3 separate regions of the Homo sapiens genome follow, and regions 2 and 3 are each linked to region 1. The links are contacts of gene promoters, found by promoter capture Hi-C in blood cells and fetal thymus (Javierre and others, 2016). All regions are on one chromosome and are shown on one strand. The core of a region is centred on a gene start or on the middle of the fragment in contact, and the rest is flanking DNA. Distances in the headings are between cores, read along the strand shown.

Evidence for each region. Contacts are between HindIII fragments. The CHiCAGO score rates a contact against its expected background, and 5 or more counts as called.
Region 2: a fragment that was not itself captured here is called in contact with the fragment with the promoter of RSRC2 in region 1 in 1 of 17 cell types (endothelial precursors); the score reaches 8.0 in endothelial precursors.
Region 3: the fragment with the promoter of HCAR3 here is called in contact with the fragment with the promoter of RSRC2 in region 1 in 1 of 17 cell types (endothelial precursors); the score reaches 6.3 in endothelial precursors.

Annotation. Positions count from the first base shown.
Region 1 is chr12:122,525,295-122,528,342 of GRCh38, forward strand. It overlaps RSRC2 (arginine and serine rich coiled-coil 2), which reads right to left and starts at 1,642. Exons shown (of 10, transcript NM_023012.6): 1 at 1,554-1,642. The coding sequence starts at 1,559. It overlaps KNTC1 (kinetochore associated 1), which reads left to right and starts at 1,955. Exons shown (of 64, transcript NM_014708.6): 1 at 1,955-2,057. RefSeq lists an enhancer at 1,322-1,781. The HindIII fragment of the contact is 2,543 bases long and covers 1,627-3,048 here.
Region 2 is chr12:122,757,620-122,760,667 of GRCh38, forward strand. All of the region lies in intron 2 of DENR (density regulated re-initiation and release factor), which reads left to right. Among named protein-coding and RNA genes, the nearest start is that of DENR, 6.3 kb to the left of the region's middle. The HindIII fragment of the contact is 3,240 bases long and covers 1-3,048 here.
Region 3 is chr12:122,715,158-122,718,205 of GRCh38, forward strand. HCAR3 (hydroxycarboxylic acid receptor 3) reads right to left here and starts at 1,654. Exons shown (of 1, transcript NM_006018.3): 1 at 1-1,654. The coding sequence starts at 1,580. The coding sequence ends at 417. The HindIII fragment of the contact is 15,173 bases long and covers 281-3,048 here.

The DNA.
Region 1 (3,048 bases), core at 392-2,891:
GAACCCGGGAGGCGGAGGTTGCAGTGAGCCAAGATCGCGCCATCGCACTCCAGCCTGGGCGACAAGAGCAAAACTCCGTCTCGAAAAAATACAAAAAAACCTGCAACCCAAGAAAAATAGTATTACTCTTTAAGTATACTGAGGCCCAAAACACTAAACAAAGGAAGACAGTAAAAGAAACGGGTTTAAACTCAATCACCTAAATAATAGAGGGGTATGGGGGAAAAAGAAAATCATCTGCCTAATCCCAGGCATTCCAATCGTTAGGAAGAGCAAACTTTAAAACTATCACTATGTTTAAGAGTCATAATTATTATCGAAAATGATGTAATTTTTTAGTCAGTAAAAAGGAATGCAAAATCTTTACATTTTCCTTTTAACGGAATAAAAATGAGGTAAGCACAAAATAATGTGGATCCGTCAGAATTGGGTATCTTATACACACGCAGGCTTATTGTTCAGAATAGATAATTTACGAACTGTAGCTCCTCTGGGGTCAACGAAGAGTTTTTTTTTTTTTTTTTTTTTTTTTTTTTTTTTTTTTTGAGACGGAGTCTCGCTCTGTCACCCAGGCTGGAGTGCAGTGGCGGGATCTCGGTTCACTGCAAGCTCCGCCTCCCGGGTTCACGCCATTCTCCTGCCTCAGCCTCCCAAGTAGCTGGGACTACAGGCGTCCGCCACTACGCCCGGCTAATTTTTTTGTATTTTTAGTAGAGACAGGGTTTCACCGTTTTAGCCGGGATGGTCTCGATCTCCTGACCTCGTGATCCGCCCGCCTCGGCCTCCCAAAGTGCTGGGATTACAGGCGTGAGCCACCGCGCCCGGCCAACGAAGGGTTTAAATTTAAAGGAACAAGGTCAGTGACAAGACTTAACTGTAACGCTTCTCGGACTTCAAATTGATTACATCACGGGCCACTTCGGAAACCGCGCATCAGTCAGAATTGGTAGTTCCACAACCTTTTAAGTTGAATTTTCACTCCCTTTCAGCAATACCTTCCTAGCTCGTTAATACACAATAATAAGGTTTACACGGACGAACACTAATTGAAATTATGCAACTAGAAGCATCTCATTGAGCGTACAAAAAAAAAAATAGCTACAAGTCGCTCTCTTCTCCCACACTACCCTTTACAGACACTGCCTTTTTGACCCAATACTTTTCAGAGACCACTCCTGATCGTCTTTCTCTTCCCCAGCCCCTTTCTCCACCGCAAATTCTCAGGCCCTAAAAAAAACTTAGAATAAATCACTAGCCAGGGTGAATAAGCGAAAATGGAGGAAGTTCAGTGAGGCGAAAGGAACGTAGGGTTGGGGAAGAGAGGAGGAAAGTTCTGGAAAAAAAAAGGCACTCCCTGCGGCTCCCCACCCCCACCAACACCGCCTTACTTCCCCCTCCCTACAGCAGGCAGCCATGATGGCGGGCGCAGAAGAAGGCCGCGGCGCCATTTTGTCTACACACATACACACGAACAAGGTTCTGGGAGCCGTTCACCCACTGTTGGAACGTAGCAGAAAAATATCCCTGGCTTTAAACTCAGATTCGGTACCTACCGCCATAGTTCAGAGTCCCGGCCGCTAGAGCGGCGCCTCCACTTGTCGCTTTCAACAGTACCGGCCGCTCCGAAGCTTCGCCTCAGACTAAATCGCTCGCGCGAGAGACCCGGATGGCACAAAGGCGAGGAGGCCCGGCGCGTCGCACAGCTTGCTGGGAGAAAAAGGGGCGGTAACAAAAGTTTCTATAACAACGCAATTCGAGGCGGTGATTGGGTGTTCTTTCATAGGGGAGTGTAAAGACCGTGAAGAGGGCGGGGCCAAGAATACACCCCCGGAATGCGCAGTCGGGAGAACGGAATGGGCGGAACTCAGGGTGGGGCAACTTCCTATTTCGAGTCTAAAGTAATCTTGGTCTCTTCCGGCCGCCGTAAAGGGGTTGGGTTTAGTGTTCTCCCGCCAATTTAAGCCTGTGGCATGGAACCTAAAGACTAGAGGCGGTTGTGTGAGTCAGGAAGAGGGGCCAGATATCTGAGTGTTCCTCTTTAGTTTCTTCAATTGCAGGTGAGGACGGGGAGCTGCGCTGTGTAGGGAACTGGGGGTGGGTTCAGGACGAAGTAGCTGCAGCCTCTGCTCAGTTCCTGTTGTTTTCCCCTTGACGCTGGCAGGAGAGAGGTTGGAGTCGGTTTTTGCTGGCGGCGATGTCCAGCGGAGAGCGTTTAAGTATGGAGGCCTAACTGACAAGTGTTTCATCTTGCTCATTCTCTCGTATTCGCGAATCTGTTCTGCATTCCGCCGCCAGAGTGATCTCAAAATTATAAAATCAGACCACTCGTTTGCTGAGTTCCCCTTCTACCCCTTGTACTGAGAATAAAATTCAATCTTGAGGTCGAGGTTTTATTGGACTCCACTGCTCTCTCCCTCACTGTCTTCTGCTTTTGCTTTGACCCGGCAGCAGCATCAAACGCTTCCTACCCAGCCTCCGAGTCTTTGCACTCTGTTCCCTCTGCCTACGTCGCGTTCCGCCTAAGTTTTGCGTACTTCTTGTTATTCAGGTCTCAGCTCAGATGTCACCTCCTTCCCTTCCCAAACAAATCCTTCTTCAGCGACGCCTCACCTTATCCATTTAATCACTGTTTCCTTCAAATCATTTAGCACTTTTTGTAATTATTTGTGCAGTTGCTTTTTTGTGGAGGTAGCATAACAAGATACGTATTAACAATTTTATTTTTGTCCGTTTTTCCCGCAAAAACATAAACTTCATAATGGCAAAGACATTTTGTGTTCTGTTCAAGCTATATTCCCAGTTCCTAGAAAGGTGTCTGGCACATAGTAAATAGGTATTCAATAAACATTTGTTGAATAAGTAAATATGGCAGTTACGGGCGGTTTCTCTATTTCACAGATGTGGGAAATTGAGACCCATAAAGGTATTCATTCCAACCTGTCCCTCCTTCTTCATCTCCTCACTCCCACCCAAACACCAGCCACTGAAACTTCTCTATTCTCCAAACATGTTTTGTTTCTGTTCCCTTGCTTATGCTCTTAGGAAGAA
Region 2 (3,048 bases), core at 307-2,806, 230 kb after region 1:
GCTTCAAGGAAACTTAGCAGAGTCTTGAAGGATGAATAGGTGTTTGCTGAAAAGAATGGCATGGATAGAAGTTCATTGTGGTTGGACCATGGGCTGGTAGGAGTTGAGTCTGGAGAAGTACGATAAGATGTTTGAAAAGTTCTTAATCTGGGAAGTGATGTGATTGGTTATATCTTTTTGGATAATAACTGTTTGGAAGGAAGGAGGAAGTGCCTGAAATGGGTTGAAACTGGCCACAGAAATCAAGTTTAGGAGACTTTATTTTTATTTTAATCTTTTCCACCCTCCTCCCCAAATTTAGAAGACTTTAAAGTATGAGATGATTGAGGCTTAGTGACACTGTGTGCAAAGTTAGTGATTTTGGTGACTGTTGACAGCGAAATTTGTAATTGAAAATATTGACTTTCAGGAAGCTGATTGTGGCTGTTCATTCTCTGTTATAGAAAGGCAGTTTTTGTTTGTTTGTTTTTCAGAAGGAGTCTCACTCTGTTGCCCAGACTGGAGTGTAATGGCGTGATCTCGGCTCACTGCAACCTCCGCCTCCAGGGTTCAAGTGATTCTCCTGGTTCAGCCTCCCGAGTAGCGGAGATTACAGGCGCCTGCCACCGTGCCTGGCTGATTTTTGTATTTTTAGTAGAGATGAGGTTTCACCATCTTGGCCAGGCTGGTCTTGAACTCCTGACCTTGTGATCCACCCGCCTCGGCCTCCCAAAGTGTTGGGATTACAGGCGTGAGCCACCAGACCCGGCCATTCTGATGTGTTCTTAAGACTAGATTTAGTTTATGATCTTGTGCCAAGACCACCACAGAAGTGCTGTTAATTTCAGTGCATTTTATCAAGAGGTACCTGGCTGTGGATTAGTCCCATTCCATGTTTCCATGTGGTGGTAACTTTGCTCATTTGGCCAGGCACAGTGGCTCACACCTTTAATTCCAACACTTTGGGAGGCCGAGGCAGGCAGATCATCTGAGCTCAGGAGTTTGAGACCAGCCTGGGCAACATAGTGAGACCCTGCCTCTACAAAAAATTAAATAAATTAGCCAGGTGTGGTGGCAAGTGCCTGTAGTTCCAGCTACTCGGAGGCTGTAGTGGAAGGAACACTTAAGCCCAGGAGTTCAAGGCTGCATGAGTTAAGATCACATCACTGCACTATAGCCTGGGTGACAAAGTGAGACTGTCTCTTTAACAAAAAAAAAGAAGCTGGAGTCTAGAGGCTTAATTTTTTATTTATTTATTTTTTTTTTGAGTTGGAGTCTTGCCCTGTTGCCCAGGCTGGAGTGCAGTGGCAGTCTCAGCTCACTGCAGCCTCTGCGTCCCAGGATCAAGCGATTCTCCTGCCTCAGCCTTCTGAGTAGCTGGGACTACAGGTGTGCGCCACCACACCCGGCTAATTTTTGTATTTTTAGTAGAGATGGGGTTTCACCATGTTGGCCAGGCTGGTCTTGAACTCCTGACCTCAGGTGATCCACCACCTCGGCCTCCCAAAGTGCTGGGATTGTAGACGTGAGCCACCACACCCGGCCTAGAGGCTTAATTAGATTCAAGTTAAACAGATTTTGGCAAGAAAGTTTCGTGGATGATGTTTCATTCATCATGTTGCATTGCATCAAGAGCTCATAATGTCAGATGTTTCACTATTAGTGATGCTAAGTTTGAAGGTGACGGCTAAATGTTTGCATTGAAAAGGTACAGTTTTCCCTTTCCAAATAAGTAAGTGATCTGTAAAGAGAAATTGACTTTTTTAAAGCAAATAATGGTGAACTTAAAGGAGCTCCCCCAATTTTTTTATTGCATTAGAATTTTGCTGAACCGGGCCAGGCACAGTGGCTCACACCTGTAATCACAGCACTTTGGGAGGCTGAGGCCAAGGCAGGCAGATCACTTGAGGCCAGGAGTTCAAGACCAGCCTGGCCAACATGGCAAAACCCTGTCTCTACTAAAAATACAAAAATTAGCTGGGTGTGGTGGTGCACACCTGTAATCCCAGCTACTCGGGAGGCTGAGCTACGAGAATCACTTGGACCCAGGAGGTAGAGGTTGCAGCCAGCTGAGATGGTGCCATTGCACTCCAGCCTGGGCAACAGAGCAAAACCCCAATTTTTTTTTTTTTCTGAACTAAATATTATTTGAAATAGTATACAAAATTTGTAGCTTTAGTATTTGCTGTGATGGTGTTTAACCAATAATTGTATAGTTATATCCTGAAAGTGTGGCTGAACAACTATGCCTAGTATTTGAACTTGAATTGTGAGGAATATAGGGCTGTAGCTAACCAGAGAGATCTTTGGTGGAAATAACCCTAAACTATAATAGACTAGACTGGACAAAACCAATGGATTCCAGTTTTCTTCTGCCACATACCACCTTTGTCATTGTATGAGCTGTTTAACTCTTTTAGTGCCCCATCTGTAAAATAGTGATTGTGTGGTAGCATGTTAGAATGTTAGTAGGGTGAGGTGAAGGCAGATCATTTTCAGCTGTCAGGTGCCACTAAGTTGCTTGTTTACTTTGTGTAACCTAAGTTAGTGGTTAATAGCATGAGCGTCAGAAACAGGCAGATTCAAATCCTGTTATCCAGATGCAAGTGGTTATGTACTCTAAGCCTCAGTTTCATCATCTGAATATAGATATGGTACTTATCTTACAAGGTTGTGATAACTAAACATAATAATGTATATAAGGCATAGCAAAACATTTGGCACATACTAGGTGCCCAGTGTGTAGTAATTGCTGTGACTACATGGTATACCACCTTCCTCTCCCTGAGAAATCTCAGGATATTGGACACACTGAACTACTCCATTCTAAACCTTAAACATAAAAACAAAAGGCCGGGCGCGGTGGCTCACTCCTGTAATCCCAGCACTTTGGGAGGCTGAGGCGGGCGGATCACAAGGTCAGGAGATCGAGACCATCCTAGCTAATACTGTGAAACCCCGTCTTTACTAAAAATACAAAAAATTAGCCGGGCGCGGTGGCGGGCACCTGTAGTCCCAGCTACTCTGGAGACTGAGGCAGGAGAATGGCGTGAACCCGGGAGGCGGAGC
Region 3 (3,048 bases), core at 404-2,903, 190 kb after region 1:
AGCCAGGTGACCTACTGGCTTGTTTAATGATGCCTGGGCTTCCTCCAGGAACAACACAATTCCCTCCAATCTCAGCTCTCCTTATCCCTGCTAGAGCTCACAAGCAGGCTAGATATCACCCCAGGAGCTGAGCCCCCTCCAGTCTGAGGCAGATGTGGGAAGAAGGCCAACAAGTCACAAGTAGATCTCTGGCTCCAACTCTGCTCAGCAGAAACGCCTACAATTTGCCCATCTTCAGTCCTGCGAGCGTCAGAGATGAAGCAAGTTTCAGATGCCTAGAAGCTTTACTCTCTGTTCCTCCAGGATTCCTGCGGTCACACCTTGCAACCAGTCTCCCACTCATCTGCCACAGTTTCCCTAAATCAGATTCTCTGAATCTGGAAGTTCCAGGAAATCTTAGGCCGAGTCCAGTGACATTACTCGATGCAACAGCCCAACTGTTTCTCCAGAGATGCTGGTTCTTGGTGACAATGTCCCTTCTTGGAATGGTTATTTGAGGTTGGGCCCAGATAAGAGGGGCTCCATGGCTCACCGGAGTTGGCGATTAACGCCTCTGGAGCGCCTCTGGTTTTGTTGGGGTCCCCTGTGAGCTCGACGCTCGTGCTGCGGTTATTATCTGGCTCACCTGTTATCTTCCTCTGGAGGCAGCGGTTGATCAAAGTGGAGAAGAAGTTGGGAAAGGATGGGCTGGAGAAGTAGTACACCACGGGGTCCAGCATGCTGTTCATGTAGGTGAAGCTGAGAGTGATAAAGAACGCCAGGTCCACCGAGCGGTACACTTCACAATTCTGCGTGCCCGAAGTGTGCAGGAGCCAGAAGATGTGGATCCGCACAACCACGCTGGGAAGGAAGCAGATGACAAAGACGATGGCCACCACCATGATGAAGGTGATGGCTCTCTTGATCTTGGCATGCCGGTCCATTTGTCTCTGCCGCAGGCTCCAGATAATTCTGGCTGAGCAGAACAGGATGATGCCCAGGGGCAGGAAGAACTCCAGGAGGAACATAGCTTCGTGCCACCGGAAGGTATGGCAGATGCTGAAGCTGATGCACACATTTGCAGTGCCATTCTGGATCAGCAACTTCTTCTTCAGGAGGTGGACTGTTAGGCCAACAGTGATGCCCCACAGAAGGCAAGAGATGATGGCTGCTGTCCAATTGGAGATCTTGTTCAGGGCGTGGTGGGGATGGACCACCCGGAAATACCTGTCTACCGCCACCACCGTGAGGAATATGATGCTGCCCTGGCGGTTCATGGCAAACATGAAGAGCACCAGCCGGCAAGGGATGTCCCCAAACTTCCAGTCTGAACGCCGCACATAGTAGTCCATCACGAACGGCAGGCAGATGATCAGTAGAAAGTCAGCTACTGCCAGGTTGAACAGGAAAATCCGGCTGGATTTCCAGGACTTGAGGTGGAAACAGAAAATCCACAGGGCAAGGCCATTGCCCAGAAGCCCAAAGATAAACTCCAGCCCCAACACCGGCGGCAACACCTTGGCAATGAAGTCATCTCGGAACACACAGCAGTTCTTCTTGTCTATTTCCAGAAAGTGATCCTGCAGATGGTGCCGATTCATGAGTGCAGCTAGTGAGTCCGATGGAGCGCCTCGCCTAGTGAATGCTCCAGCAAAGTGGCGTGTGTCTGTATGGTGAACGTGTGGTTCCGTGCCTGCCTTTATGTCATGTCAGGGTGTTGAAATAGATGACTGAATGGTTATCAGGAAACTACGAAATCTCTAAAAAAAAAAAAAAAAAAGCCAGCAAGGCTCTTATGCAACCTGCTGTTTGCATAAACAAATAATAAAAATCCCCTGGGCATACAGGAACCCACCAAATGTCTTAAATGTAAAGGATAAGTTTAGGCAAGCTGACTGTCATTCGAAAATCAGTGAAACATGAAGGACATCCCTTTGGAAGGCTGGGTGCTTGTATGCCAACTGAGTACTCAACGTTGCAGAATTAATTCACCGTCATCTGCTTGGCTGACATAATTAACAAAACAACAACAATAGCAATAATAATTTTTGGTGCCAAACAGTGAGGTTTTCCAGAAACACTAAGAATTAGCATGAAAAATTAACAGGCATATGACATAAACAGTAGCAGGCATATGATTTCTTTTGGAAATGCTGAGAAGACAGTAGTTGCCTGTTTGATGAGGACAGACTGGTTGAATTTGACCACTTTTCCTATGCTACCTTTCTGTACAAACATGGAGTGCTTTTCCATATCAGAACTCTGCCATTCATCTCCAGTTAGGAAAAAAAAAAAAGCCTGCTGGAGAGTGTAATATTTCATAAGATGTTTGAAAACTTGAGCCCAGTTTCAGTGGCATGTTAAAATAAGTTGGGTTTTTTGTTTGTTTATATTAGATTTTGATATGCTTCTGTGCTCAAGTGATTTAAGTATGTGATTTCTTTTTTTTGCAAACTTTGAATTAATGAGAAAAGGATTCATGAGGCTAGTTGTAAGCTGTAGCAAATCGGGTGTACTTTGTGCTACAAATTTGTTTTTCTGTGTCGCTCTGCATGAAGAGGGGTACCTTAGGATAGAGCATGGGGTTAGTACCCCATAAGCTGTCTGTTCTAGACAGCCCAGGAAACTGGTCAGTAAGAAAGTTGGTTGCAGGTCCCTGAAACAAACAAAAAACTGGATGAGGTCTCTAACTTGTTTTATGTCCTTGGGACCTTAGGATGTGATTTTTTTTTTTTGAGACAGAGTCTCACTCTGTCACCCAGGCTGGAGAACGGTGGAACAATCTCAGCTCACTGCAACCTCCGCCTCCCAGGTTCAAGCAATTCTTCTGCCTCAGCCTCCTGAGTATCTGGGACTACAGGCGTGCGCCACCACGCCCAGCTAATTTTTTGTATTTTTAGTAAAGACGAGGTTTCACTGTGTTGGCCAGGCTGGTCTCGAACTCCTGACCTTGTGATCCACCCGCCTCGGTCTCCCAAAGTGCTGTGATTACAGGCGTGAGCCACTGCGCCTGGCCGTGATTTTTTTTTTTTAATGAACTTTATTTTTTAGGGCAGTTTTAGATTCACA